Linked DNA regions of Homo sapiens: all the other regions are linked to region 3. Evidence: promoter capture Hi-C in 16 types of primary human blood cells and fetal thymus (Javierre and others, 2016). All regions are on one chromosome and are shown on one strand. The core of a region is centred on a gene start or on the middle of the fragment in contact, and the rest is flanking DNA. Distances in the headings are between cores, read along the strand shown.

The links. The method cuts DNA at HindIII sites, captures the fragments that hold promoters and counts their contacts. A CHiCAGO score of 5 or more calls a contact.
Region 1: a contact is called between a fragment that was not itself captured here and the fragment with the promoter of GRIN3A in region 3, in 1 of 17 cell types (endothelial precursors). The highest score is 7.1, in endothelial precursors.
Region 2: a fragment that was not itself captured here is called in contact with the fragment with the promoter of GRIN3A in region 3 in 4 of 17 cell types (naive CD8 T cells, M2 macrophages, activated CD4 T cells and 1 more); the score reaches 7.2 in naive CD8 T cells.

What each region holds. Positions count from the first base shown.
Region 1 is chr9:104,390,921-104,393,620 of GRCh38, reverse strand. No RefSeq gene overlaps it. Among named protein-coding and RNA genes, the nearest start is that of OR13F1, 110 kb to the left of the region's middle. The HindIII fragment of the contact is 1,162 bases long and covers 685-1,846 here.
Region 2 is chr9:104,670,967-104,673,686 of GRCh38, reverse strand. The region is part of intron 2 of LOC107987105 (a long non-coding RNA gene); the gene reads left to right. Among named protein-coding and RNA genes, the nearest start is that of OR13D1, 22 kb to the left of the region's middle. The HindIII fragment of the contact is 414 bases long and covers 1,121-1,534 here.
Region 3 is chr9:101,737,152-101,740,008 of GRCh38, reverse strand. It overlaps GRIN3A (glutamate ionotropic receptor NMDA type subunit 3A), which reads left to right and starts at 1,362. Exons shown (of 9, transcript NM_133445.3): 1 at 1,362-2,728. The coding sequence starts at 2,030. RefSeq lists enhancers at 1,005-1,528, 1,529-2,053. The HindIII fragment of the contact is 5,247 bases long and covers 329-2,857 here.

The DNA of each region.
Region 1 (2,700 bases), core at 16-2,515, 2.7 Mb before region 3:
CAGTGCATGTTATCCATTGTTGTATACGAATAACACAAAGGCTAAGAAGTTACTCAAATATCAGTGATTTTATTTAATTGTGAAGTGAAGCATGTGTAGTACATGTAGTTTTAATTTCTTCTAAATAATTATGCTTTATTAATGAGAACTCTTTCTGATGCAAATTGAAAGAAAACAATCTTATAACTTGCTTAATTAGAAAAAAAAGAATGCATTGTCTTAAACAAACTGCAGTCCTAGAGGAGACTTTGCATTAAGCCTGTCTGAATTAGAAATCAGAAAATGTTATCAATAATAAATCTCTCTCTCTCTTTCTGTCTCTCTCCCTCTCCCTCTTTTCAGTCTCTTGGTTCTGCTTTTTCCTGATTTAGCTTTATTCTCAGGAAAAATAGCCTTGAGCCACTCTGTGCATACAGTTCTTAACTATCACAACTCAGAAAGAAAAAGAGACTTTCCATTTCAGAACTTCTATATAAATTCTCATGATGAATAAATACATTAAAAAAATCGGTCTCTATAGTTAAGTTTTGTTTATGAAAAAAAAGTCAGTCTCTATGGTTAATTGTCCTTTCCAACCTATCCTCTAGAAACATTTTTCCTAATCCCTGGATGAAATCTCAGCATGTTCTGTATCTTTTAGATAGTAACAAATAGTTTTATTTCCCAGTCTGAAAAATCCAAGCTTATATTAAGGCTTCAATGTTTCATTTACTTTAAAGTTTCTTCCACTTCCTAGCTTGGCCCTTCTTCAGACTGAAAATTCTGGAATGGGAAAATGCAGATGATATTGGTTCCCTCACCTATTTTCTCTTTTTCTTCTTGTCCTCCTTTTCCAGCGTTGGAATGAATTCTCTAGTGTTGGAACGGGGAGCAAAGAGAGGTAAGGGACAGGAAAGGTTTGTCTGGAGTACATGAGGTGTCCCCTGGCTAAATACACATTATTTCCTGTTTGGTTCTTGGGTTCTGAGAGGCATCCCAGGACTTTCTCTGGAGAGTTTACTCACCACTTCAGATGGTGCTCTTGATAGGAAATCCTTTAAAACAATCAAGTTCAGTTGTCTTCTACAGGATCTATATCTGGCCTCACATTGTGCCCCCAAACTCTGGAAATCTAGGCCACCTCTAGCACAGCTTTCTTGGCCGGGGTTGGAAATGAGACTGCCCGAGGGCAGCCTGAACTGGCCTTGTGCTCTTATCTGACTTGGTCAGGCCTCCCCACAGCCCTAGTCCAGTGCTGCCTGACATTGGGTAGGTAAACTTTTCCAGTTCAGGAGTTGTCTTTGAAGGTGACTTTGGCTCTTCCGCAAGGTCATTTTTGTACTTAGCTTTATCAGTAGCACTGGTAATATTTTGGCCTTCAATTTTATTGTTTTATTTTTGACATTGTTCAGAATCTAGGCAGGGCAAAGGGGTTCTCTTTTTGGATAAGCTGAAGAATCTCAGTGGTCTAGACTACCACACTAAGAAACATTAGTCTACTGGGGAAAATATAGAATGAAATGGGAGATGGTATAGGACATGACCTCTGCCTTCAAATGTTTAATCTAATTAGGGAGCTAGGCAAATAAATTATCATGAACAATTCAATGTGCTGAAAACAATAAGGGCTGCATTTATTGAGTATTAACTGTGTTTCAGGCTTTACAGATGTTTTCATTTAATCTTCACAGCAACCCTGATTTAGAGGCTATTACCATCTCCATTTTACAGATTGAGGCTAAAAGAGTTCAAACAGCATGTCTCAAATTAAGAAGAGTCAGAGCTTATATTTGAAACCAGATCTGTCTGATCTTAACTTCTTAATTGGCAAGCACCCTGTAAGGCCTCACTTGGACTTTTAGAAGCTTAGGGTCTAACAGAGAGCCTGACATGCAAATCTTCCACATTAAAGTAGCAAAACGAGAAAGACATTACTTCTATCAACTGCTTTGATACAGTAAATATCATATTAGAATAAGGCCTTTCTTCATATGCTGATGTCATTACCTGGCAATGGCAGAACATCCTAGGTATAAATCCTTGCCTCCAGCACCTAACCAGTTCAGATACTCTCCACTTCACTTATGTATACTGACCACCTGTGTGTCTTGACCAAACCCAGTGCATTTTTAGAATATTCTCAAATGTATGCAAACTCTACTCAGAATCAGAAAATCCCCCAATTTCTGAGCTTTCAAATATTTTATTTTTATGGTACTTTATTAATATAAAGAAATGTGACACTTTAAATTTCATGAAATAATAAGTAACATTAGTTTTCTATTTTTATTTTTCAGATGATTTTATACACATCTGTTTATCTGATACCTTTAACAATGTCATGGCGTATACTATTATAATTATCAACATTATAGATATTATGTTAAGGAACCTAAGACTCAAAGTTCTAAACAGGTAGTTTATAACTAAGTTACACAAAGACTGCAGCTGGGTGGATTCTCTTCTGATTGTAAATTCTATACTCTTTCTATTCTACCTCAGTGACTCAGATACTGCCAGCAATCGTTCTAGCTTTTCCTTGATGAGTTCCTATAGAATGATAAATATCTTCACAAAGTTCCCAACATCACTGCAAGAGCTGATTATTGGCTGGCTAGAAACAAAACATATATCAGACACTGTGGGAAAGCACAAGTGCATTTTTAGAGGCATTGTTTTTAATCATGAAAAGCTGGTACGACAGGCAATTTTTTGAAATAT
Region 2 (2,720 bases), core at 78-2,577, 2.9 Mb before region 3:
TAGTCGCGGTTGTTACACTCAGGTGAGACAAAACCAGGTAAACAACACTGAAACACATTGTTTTTTTAATTGACAGAGTCTCACTGTGTCACCCAGGCTGGAATGCAGTAGGCAATATTGGCTTACTGCAACCTCCGCCTCCTGGTTTCAAGCAATTCTTATGCCTCAGCCTCCCTAGTAGCTGGGACTACAGGTGCACGCCACCACACCCAGCTAATTTTTTTGTGTGGGCTTTTTGTTTGTTTGTTTGAGACTGAGTTTCGCTCTGTCACCAGGCTGGAGTGCAGTAGTGTGATCTCGGCTCACTGCAACCTCTGACTCCCAGGTTCAAGTGATTTTTCTGCCTCAGCCTCCCAAGTAGCTGGGACTACAGGCACCCACCACCACGCCTGGCTAATTTTTTTATTTTTAGTAGAGACAGGGTTTCACCATGTTGGCCAGGATGGTCTCGATCTCCTGACCTTCTGATCCACCTGCCTTGGCCTCCCAAAGTGCTGGGACCACAGGTGTGAGCCACCACACCTGGCCTTTTGTGTGTTTTTAGTAGAGATGGGGTTTCACCATGTTGGCCAGGCTGGGCTCAAACTCCTGACATCAAGTGATCTGCCTGTGTTGGCCTCCCAAAGTGCTGGGATTACAGTTGTGAGCCACCACACCTGGCCTGAAACACTGTTGAAGAGAATGCTGTCTCAACTGGGCTTATTGCTAGTTGTGTGTATTCCCTGTAACATCATACAAGACACAACCTTCAAAAGAAAAATGCCTGTTTAAAAAAGTTGAATACACAAATTGCACTGATCCAAATTATCAACGTGTTAATTGTGGAGATTACAAAGACCAGTAACTCTACTTCTAATGACCTTTCAATAAAGCAGGATATACAAACAACACACAAATAGAAAATAAATCTTCATATTATAAATATTATGAAAGATTGCTAAACAAATCCAATTTAGTTAAAATGATAAGTAGGAGCTTCAAGGCAGAGGAGGCTTTTGAGGAGGGTCTTGGATTGTGATAGATTAGAGAGATTTTGATTTTAGATAGAGAGAATGGCATGAACAAAGATGCAGAGGCAGCAATGATTGGCAAGGCTTATTCTAGTAATGGTAACTAAGCTTGCTTAGCTTCAATGTGTGAAAAGCAATCATGCCTTCATTCATTCAACAAAGAACTATAATGAACATCTATTTCCTGAGGACTCCACTTTACGTCTTTAAATTTTATGTTCCTGGTGAACTACAGAGTTGGGATTTTTATCCATCTCTTCCTGATTTCTAAAATGTGTGCTTTCAACTACATCCCTCTGAATAAATAGTATACAATATATAATACAAATTATAAAAGAGGCACAAAGAAGCATATAGAAACACTGAAGTGGGAGAAGTGATTTTTTCCTGGAGGGTTTAGTAAAGGCTTCACAGAAGAGGTGACATTTGAGTTTAGCGACAGTGCGACAGAAAAAATAACCCTTGATTTGGGAATATTAATGTTCAACTCTTCTCAAAATCCATCTATCAAAAGAGCAGAAGCTTCCAGTTATTGATCTTTATAATCTTCAAAATAATTAAAAATGTGAGATACAATCAATATATATCCTAGCTCACTGACATAAGCCTCAATACTTAAAGTCTGTTTTTTCCCTTGTTTTAAAACTTACCATCCCCTGAACTGCTGGTCCAAGGAAGAGAAATTTTATTTTACCTGATAAAAGATATTTACATCAAAAGAATATTATCATATGAAATGAAAGCAAGAGAGAGGGAGGAAAAAAAAAAAAAGCAAAGCTGGAAAATGGAGAGATGCTCCAAAACAGCTGGGGGATATGATGCCAGTGGATAAAAGAAAAAGTAATTCTTATCAGTGTTACTGTGGTAGGAAATATTTGGATTCCTTCCATGGTTTTTAAGAAAGTTAAGTAGAGGTTGAAAATTATTTTGATTGCTTGACTGTTTCCTTTTTGAGAATGAGCCATGGAAATTTCAGCTTTGTAAGCATGTAATAATAACACTAGTAATACTGTTAATCATGAAAGACATCTATTAAAGTCTTAGGAAATGCATTGGGTTCTGTATTTAGTGGGTTCTCTATCTAGTTATTTGTTGAAAATGCTCAATTTATAAGTGCTATAGCATGTTGAATGCTTTAATGGAACACATCTCAGATCGTGGAAAACAGAGAAAGCACCCCCAAAGCTCCTCAGAGTTAATAGATATTACTATTTTAATACTGCATATTGATTTTATTTGTTTCAAATATCATGTATTATGTATACCTTTAACCAATATTATATTGCTTGAAGTTGCACCTTCTTCATTCTCCATGCTAAATATTCCATTATTCTACTTGTGATAAACATTTATATTTTTCTAGTGTTTGTATAAGGTATGAATAGTGCTTTTATTAACATACTTATATGCATCTTTGGTGTAAATTTGTATATAATCACTCTATTGAATATATAGTTTAGAAAGAATTCTGAGTTATAGGGTATGCAAATACTTAGCTTCATACACATCTCCAGTTCTATAAAGTATTGGTACCAATTTAAGCTCCCACCAGCAGTATGTAAGAACTTAAGTTGCTTTACATCTTTGGAAACACTTGGTATTATCTCTGTTTTTCATTTTAGCTGTTGTGGTGGGAGTGGTAGCATATTATTTTATTTTTTTATTTCCCTGAAGTTAAGCATTTTTCATACATTTATTGCATATTCAAAT
Region 3 (2,857 bases), core at 113-2,612:
ATACCCAATCTTCCTGCAATGCAAGGACCTCAGACTTCTACACTTTTATTATTCAGATCTCAATCAGTGGAATCCTGTGGATCAAGGGGGAATTTCCAGCACACTAGAGGCAGCTTTTCTCCATTCATGGGATGTTCTCTCAGGCTTCAGGAGGGTTTCTTTCCCTCCTCATTCAGCCCACTACTATGATTTTCACTTTTTTTCTCATGGGAGACTTTTCTTCTCTAGCAACCCAGTCTTGCAAAAACGATGCCGAATGTCTGGTAAATTTGTTCTGAGATACCTTTAAAGATCTGGGCTGGGGAAAACAGCATTCACTTTGCAAGCTTCTTGGGATTTTTACTTAACTAGAGTCTCTTCTTCCCAGGATTTAAAACATGATGGAAACTTTAGCTCATGAATCAAAACAACCCTCCAGAGCTAAAAGCCAGCTGTATTTGCATAACAATTTAGCAGATCCAAACAGCAGGGCAAGGTCGGGTGAAATAAGTTGCCAAGGTCATGGTCATGAAGTAGTATTAGACTCAGAAAGGCTGATCCCCAGTGCTTGCTCCACCCCATGGATCTCTCCTACCCTCCTTCTAAACGATACTGTGGGATAAAATAAAATTAATCTACTGTATATGTGCAAACCACAGGCCTGCCCTTAACTCTTTCCTTACCTTCTAGTTTCAGATTATTCAAATCATGGAGGAAAAGATTAGATCACAACACGTTGACTTCACTGTATTACCATACAAATGAAATAACTTAGTACAAACTGTGATCTGGGGACTCTTGATCTAAACTGGGAACTGCTGTTGACTGCATTTTAAACTCTAAAAGTATTTTGAAACTCTTTAATTTCTTGAACTGAAAAAATTGCTTTGAATTCACTTTGTTTTAATTCTGAGAACCTAAAAACAGGGATTCTTTAAAAAAAAAATGCAAAGGCTCACATGCCAGAAAGAAAGAAGCTGAGGAGATAAAAATGTGTAAATAATTCTTACTTTAATACCCTTAGCTAGAAAAACCTTAAAAGCGACACATCCAGAAGCTCGTTAAGTCACAGCCTCTTTGAACCTATTTCAGTGAACCACCGAATTTCAGATCCCTCAGGTGCGACTCTGAATTCAGAATTCTCACCGGCTCATAGTCCTATTTTCCTTCTTAGGTTTTAGGGAATTTTGCAAACTATGACGCCCAGCCTTTGAGGGGAGAGGACTTTCCAGGGGCGCGGGATGTGCCACTCGGGAATCTCACCAACAGTGGGCGTTTAGCGCAGCCAAGCGACAGGCAGGCGCCAGGGCTCAGCAACAGGGAGGCGCCGGCTGAGGCGGGGAGAACTTTGGCGCTCGGAGCAGAGCCACCCTTTGCTGGCCAGTCGCGTTGCTCCTCCGAGGAAGCAAGCGGCGGTGGCGACTCGGTGGAAAAATAACGAAAGAAAGGCAGAGAGGAAGTAGCGAGAGAAGAGAGAAAATGAAGTCGGCGCTGGGGGAGCCTGCAGGAGGGTGGCCAACAGTGGAGGAAGGTGGATTTGGCTTCTTTTCCGCACCCCGGGCGTGAAAGCCCTCTCCAACGCGACCCCAGGAAATAAGTGGGTCTCGCCTGGGCAGAAAAGGAAAAGAATCCAGGCGAGAGCGCGTCGCTCCTCTGTCACTGCTGCCCCCGAGGAACTCCGGCTGCTTCTCATCCCGGCCGCCTCGCGGGGCCGGACGCAGTGCCCGAGGCGCCCTGCAGATGGGGCGGGCAGGGAACGGGCGCTCCAGCTGCGGGTGACAGGCGCCGGCCCGCCCGCCTGCCTGCTCAGCGCAGTGACCGGGCGGGCAGAGGATGCCAGGCGGAGGGACCTGGGAGCGGGATCTGAGACTGCCGGAGGCGCGCTACGCTCCAACTTGCATGGCCTAGAGACCGCTCCAGCTCCTGGGACCGCTTCACCGAGTGGAGTGAAGCTGCGCGCGGGACCTGGAGGCGGAGACCTCAGGCAGCGGCTGCAGAGGGGCGAGCCGGGCGCAGGAGGGGGCGCGCTTTCTCCCTGCGGGTCTCAGTAATGAGGAGACTGAGTTTGTGGTGGCTGCTGAGCAGGGTCTGTCTGCTGTTGCCGCCGCCCTGCGCACTGGTGCTGGCCGGGGTGCCCAGCTCCTCCTCGCACCCGCAGCCCTGCCAGATCCTCAAGCGCATCGGGCACGCGGTGAGGGTGGGCGCGGTGCACTTGCAGCCCTGGACCACCGCCCCCCGCGCGGCCAGCCGCGCTCCGGACGACAGCCGAGCAGGAGCCCAGAGGGATGAGCCGGAGCCAGGGACTAGGCGGTCCCCGGCGCCCTCGCCGGGCGCACGCTGGTTGGGGAGCACCCTGCATGGCCGGGGGCCGCCGGGCTCCCGTAAGCCCGGGGAGGGCGCCAGGGCGGAGGCCCTGTGGCCACGGGACGCCCTCCTATTTGCCGTGGACAACCTGAACCGCGTGGAAGGGCTGCTACCCTACAACCTGTCTTTGGAAGTAGTGATGGCCATCGAGGCAGGCCTGGGCGATCTGCCACTTTTGCCCTTCTCCTCCCCTAGTTCGCCATGGAGCAGTGACCCTTTCTCCTTCCTGCAAAGTGTGTGCCATACCGTGGTGGTGCAAGGGGTGTCGGCGCTGCTCGCCTTCCCCCAGAGCCAGGGCGAAATGATGGAGCTCGACTTGGTCAGCTTAGTCCTGCACATTCCAGTGATCAGCATCGTGCGCCACGAGTTTCCACGGGAGAGTCAGGTGAGAGGAGCCTGGTGCGTGGAGTGGAGATGGGCGCTGCTGGGGGCCGGGGCCATTGCATGAGGGGAGAGAAAACGGCTTGGTAAAGTCTGAGGGGAGTTGTTACTTTATAACTTTGATATTGCTTAA